Linked DNA regions of Homo sapiens: region 1 is linked to region 2. Evidence: promoter capture Hi-C in human tissues and cell types (Jung and others, 2019). All regions are on one chromosome and are shown on one strand. Each heading gives the region's core, a stretch centred on a gene start or on the middle of the fragment in contact. The rest is flanking DNA. Distances are from core to core; before and after follow the strand shown. Region 1 overlaps FRMD4A (FERM domain containing 4A). Region 2 holds the start of PRPF18 (pre-mRNA processing factor 18).

The links. The method cuts DNA at HindIII sites, captures the fragments that hold promoters and counts their contacts. A contact is called where the count stands out against the background at its distance.
Region 1: a contact is called between a fragment that was not itself captured here and the fragment with the promoter of PRPF18 in region 2, in 1 of the 25 tissues and cell types used here (adrenal gland).

Annotation. Positions count from the first base shown.
Region 1 is chr10:13,892,582-13,895,281 of GRCh38, forward strand. The region is part of intron 2 of FRMD4A (FERM domain containing 4A); the gene reads right to left. Among named protein-coding and RNA genes, the nearest start is that of FRMD4A-AS2, 98 kb to the right of the region's middle. The HindIII fragment of the contact is 3,951 bases long and covers 1-2,700 here.
Region 2 is chr10:13,585,539-13,588,238 of GRCh38, forward strand. PRPF18 (pre-mRNA processing factor 18) reads left to right here and starts at 1,427. Exons shown (of 10, transcript NM_003675.4): 1 at 1,427-1,614. The coding sequence starts at 1,549. RefSeq lists enhancers at 1,382-1,721, 1,897-2,492. The HindIII fragment of the contact is 7,227 bases long and covers 1-2,700 here.

The DNA of each region.
Region 1 (2,700 bases), core at 65-2,564, 310 kb after region 2:
ATTTTTTTTCATGAATTGTCAAAACACGGTGATAAAATAAAAGGGGATGCTGGCAAGAGCCTCCACTTAGCAAAAGCCGACTTGTTTCTGGGTAAAGTCTTTCTCTAGAATTTCCAACCTGCACCCATCCACTCTTCAGGGGAGAGACTGGTTTTCCTCCCACCATGGTTGATCTAGTACTTGGTAGATCTAGAAACATCATTTTCCGGAGACCGGTAGGCTCTGAGGACTTACAAACTTCGTAATAAAAAGAAATCACTCACATCCTGTCTTCCAACTGACTGAAAATTATACCTTTTTCCAGTCACAGGTCCTGTGTTGTTTTCTAAACAACACTGGTAAAAATTTTCAACAGTTCAAAAGGCCTCACCATCAATAGAAAGGGAATTGGGCATACAGTTAGCATTGGAGAAAAAAGTTGAACGCTGGTGTTAAGGACTACCTGTTTTGTGTTTGTTTGTTTGTTTGTTATAGAGACAGAGTTTCACTCTGTCACCCAGGCTGGAGTGTGATGGTGTGATCACGGCTCACTGTAACCTCCCCGTCCTGGGCTCAAGTGATCTTCCTGCCTCAGCCTCCTAAGTAACTGGGACTACAGGCACACCCCACCACACGCTGCTAATTTTTGTATTTTTTGTAGAGACGGGATCTTGTCATGTTGCCCAGGCTGGTCTTAACTACCTGTGTTATTTCAAGCTGACTGGAGACTTGATGATCTGAAGCCAGGTTCGAATGGGATTCTCAGGTACCTCTCTAAAGTCTGTGAGGCGTATTCCAATGCAAAACCCCATTTTTTGATAATGCAATTGGAGCCCATCTCCTTGTGTTCTGAGGTCCTCAGAGGGCATATTGTTTCTTTGCACGCAGACTAGTTCTAGTCCTGATTTGTTTTGACTGCAACACCTAGTAATGGACAATGAGGAAATGTTCAGACCTACAACATTTTTTTTTCTTTTTTTGAGACAGAGTCTGTCTCTGTTACTCAGGCTATAGTGCAGTGGCACAATCTCGGCTCACTGCAGCCTCCCCTCCTGGGTTCAAGCGATTCTTCTGCCTTAGCCTCCCGAGTAGCTGGGATTACAGGCACCCACCACCATGCCCGGCTAATTTTTTAGTAGAGGCGGGGTTTTGCCATGTTGGCCAGGCTGGTCTTGAACTCCTGACCTCAGGTGATCCACCCACCTTGGCCACAGTGTTGGGATTACAGGCGTGAGCCACCGCACCCAGCTCAGACATACATTTCTCTTCCAATATTTTGTTTCCATCCTTAGAGGAGTTGTTGAATTTTATCCACATCTACACCTCCTGCTTTCCGCCTTGGCCACTGTCATATTCTGTATGTCCTAAACTGAACTTGCCTCACTGGCCAATCCTGCCTCCAGGCTCCCTCTCCTAGTAAACAGCATGCTCCCTCCTCCTCCCCAAAGCCAGAAACAGGGATAGAGAGCTCATTTCCCTCCCTCCTTTCTCTCATTCCTCACCTGATCATGGAGCCTGTCCTCATAACTACCTCATGAAAAGTCATGAGGGCAGCCCCTTATCCCAACAGTGCCTGAAGCTGAGTGAGCAACTGCTGGGCGCCAGGCATACTCAGGCCACATCATCTTTCACCAGGATGTCTCCAGCAGCCCTGTGAATGGGTGCTGATCTTATCTCTCTCAGATGCATTCTCCACTCCAGCTGGAGCGATTCTCCTAAATCCCAGATCTGATCCCGTAACTTTCGCTAAAAACCTGTTCAGGGCTTCCCTGGCTTTGGGGACAAAAAGTCCATATTCCTTCTGATGGCTATAAGGACCCCCTGGTCATCCAGTCTTATCTTTTGCCACCCAGCCCCACCAGAAATCGTGTCACCCCCTACCCTCCAGCTACAGAACCCTCTTCCAGGGCTCCGTATGTTCCAGGTGGTCACGCATCCGCGGATCACCCAGTAGCCCAGGCTGGAGAAAGAGCTCAGCTCACATCACTGCTCTGCTTAAAGACTGCGGGTGGCTTCTCACTGCTCCTGCCACATCCTCTTTGTCTTCATCACATATTATTCACATTTCCTGCTTCCTCTCCCTGGAAGGCCAGGCCCTGCTCCCTACCCCACTCTTTGGGTAGCTGGCTCCTGGTCGTCTTTCAGGTTCTTACTCAAATGCTGCCTCTTAGATAACCTTCGGTGACCAGCACATGGGGAATGTTTTCCCCCAGGTACTTAATATATCACCATCCTGTTTATTTTTTTCTTAACACTTAGCCACCATCAGGATTCACAGACCTGTGTGAAGGGCACAGACTGAAGCCATTCTGCCTGGGCTTGAATCTTGCCTGGCCACCCACTAGCTGTGCAAGCTTAGGCAAGTTTCTTAACCTCTCTGTGCCTCAGTTGAGAACACTCATCTATGAAATGGGGACAATAATATTGCCTACCTTGTAGGGCTGTTATGAGGATTAAACGAGTTAATATATGTAAAGCACTTAGAACAGGGTCTGGCTGAATAAGCATAAACCTTTTGGGGCTTTTTAAAAAAGTTGTATTTAAGTTCAGGGGTACACGTGCAGGTTTGTTGCATAGGTAAACTAGCGTCATGGAGGTTTGTTGTACAAATTATTTTGTCACTGAGGTATTAAGCCTATTACCCATTAGTTATTTTTCCATATCTTCCCCCTCCTCTCACCCTCTATCCTGTGATAAGCCCCATTGTGTGTTGTTCCCCTC
Region 2 (2,700 bases), core at 177-2,676:
TGTCATCTGTCTTAACCCTTCAGGTTTTTTTTGTGTCTAACAATCCCTAATCCCTAAATCAGGAAAATGCTAATAAATTATTATTTGCTCATTGATTAGTGAGGGAAACCCATATTCATGCAAGAGTGTTGCCATATTTAGTTCAAGGACATTTTCCTGTGTTGGCTTATTTCTGGCAAAAGTCAGGTATATTTTATTTTATTTTGTTTTGTTTTTGAGACAAAGTCTTGCTCTATCACCCAGGCTGGACTGCAGTGGCATGATCCCGGCTCACTGCAACCTCCATCTCCCGGATTCAAGCAATTCTCCTGTCTCAGCCTCCTGAGTAGCTAGGACTATAGGCACCTGCCACCACGCCTGGCTAATTTTTGTATTTTTAGTAGAGACGGGATTTCACCATGCTGGCCAGGCTGGTCTTGAACTCCTGACCTCAGGTGATCTGTCCACCTCGGCCTCCCAAAGTTCTGGGATTACAGGGGTGAGCCACCCCGTCTGGCCTCAGATATCTTTTAGATGAAGTATCACCCCCCACAAAAGACTTTCTAAATTGAAATAATTCAATTGTTCATTTTTTTGTTTTGTAAAGCATTTTACCCATTATCAGCTGACTCAACAAAATGATATTTCTTACCTTTTTTGAGTAAGAAAAACGAAATGTCAAATATTGTTCAATTATGATTTCACAAAAACAATTTTTAAACGTGCTTCAATGACATGAAAAAAATAAGTCCACTGTAAACAAATGTTAGGGACTTAAAAAATCTCTGACATAATTTTTCTCTTCAATTTAACTTTTTTTCCCTTGGGTTGGATTTAAAAAAAAAAAAGGAATTTCTGATTACATCTCCAATCATGTCACTGAAAAATCTTGATTGCTGAACACATGACCAAAAAATGATTAGTTAGCTTGAGGTAAATGTTCAATTATCACCAAGATTGGTAAGCAATCTAAAACAGAGGGAGTGAAGATAAATTGACTTCCAAACTGCTTTAAATGGTTGTAGTCGTTTAAGTTCACAGGAAATTTAACAGGCTAGTAATGAACAGACAGCCCTTTCACTCTATTGTTACAAGTTAGTATTATTGTTTAGATTTTTCTCATCCTTTTGCAAATTTTGCAAGCAAGTAACTTCAGAAACCCTAATGTAAATTTCCAGTTAATAAAGATCTTGATTTAACTGGCATTATTGAGGTGTTCTTCGAGAGGCTTTTGGAACTCAACTAGCAGGTGCAGAGAGTACTACAAAGACCCGGGTTTCCGTCCACGTTCACGTAAACCTCCCTACGAGGGGAAACTACAGGCGCGCTGCCGGAGGGCGCCGCCAGTGGGCACTCACGCACAGCTGCTTTGGCCACCACAGGCGCCCCGGGCCACTCTCTTCCCTCATCTCTCTCATCCCAGCTTCCGCCGGAAGCGGCTCCTGTCAGTTGTTCTCAGGTGTTTGGGCTTGTTGTTCCGTATACTCAGTGGGTTCGCGGCCGCCGGCCCAGTGAGGCTGGGTTCGAGGAGCTGGAGCGGGAAACTGGAGCTTAAATTCTGGCGGCGAGATGGACATTCTGAAATCAGAGATCCTTCGGAAGCGGCAGCTGGTGGAGGACAGGAACCTGCTGGTGGTGAGGACCCTGCGGTCGTGGGGGTCGGGATGTAAGAGTGAGAGTATGTGTGTCGGGGTTTTGGGGTGAGGGTGACGATACTCAGAGGATTCGGGGCGGGGACGGGGCTTAGCGAGTGTCCTGCCACTACCCCTGGTAGGCCCCCTTAGATCCAACCCTTGGCGTCTCACTGTTGAGGCTGGAGAATAGGGTCTGAGAGCAGGGAACTTGAGTACAATTCGTGCTGACTTCCCAAAGCTGGATCAAAAGGAAAACACCTGGGTCTGGGGGCGGGAACCTGAGGCCAATTAACGCCCACGTCCAAAAGCCAAACCAAAAGAAAAATCCTCATCTTCCCACCACCGAGTAGCAAAGGCTTCAGGCTGCGGCTCTCCCCGCATCCCTGCCTTTCCACCACCTCTCAGATGGGAAGGGAACGTGCCCTGCATTGGCCGTGGGCCAATCACGGGCCATCCCTTCATCTGCATAGGGCGCCAGTTCACCTCAGTCTTTAGCCACAGACCGAACCCTTCATCCAGATACGGGGTAGCTGATAGGGACCTCAGAAGGAGTACCTAAAACCCGGAAAACTTTGTAACCGGGGCCTCGAGCCGCTTGCTCGGGCCCACTCACACCCTGTGGAGTGCTTTCTCGCGTTCATAAGTCCCTACTTTTGCTGCTTCATTCCTGTGTTTTGTTACTTTTTTTGTGCGTTTTGTCCAATTCTTTGTTCAAAACGCCAAGGACCCGGGCAACTTACACTCACGGCCTTCTTTCCGGTAACCACTTGGGAGCCTTAGGGATGCAGGTGTGGGAATTGCAGGAAAACCCGAGGCTTTGTTTGTTTTCCCCCGACTGACCCTGTTTCCCTCCAGTTTACCTAACTGCCCCCTATCCCCGCTCCTACCTGTTGGCATTCTGCGGACGTGCCCCAGTGCTCCTGAGAGTTCCCTTCTGTCGCCTTACGAAGGGTTTGTGCCCAACTGAAACATGGAGGAAGGGCCGCCGGGCGCGGTGGCTCACACCTGTAATCCCCACACTTTGGTGGGCAGATCACCTGAGGTCAGGAGTTCGAGACCAGCCTGGCAAACATGGTGAAACCCCGTC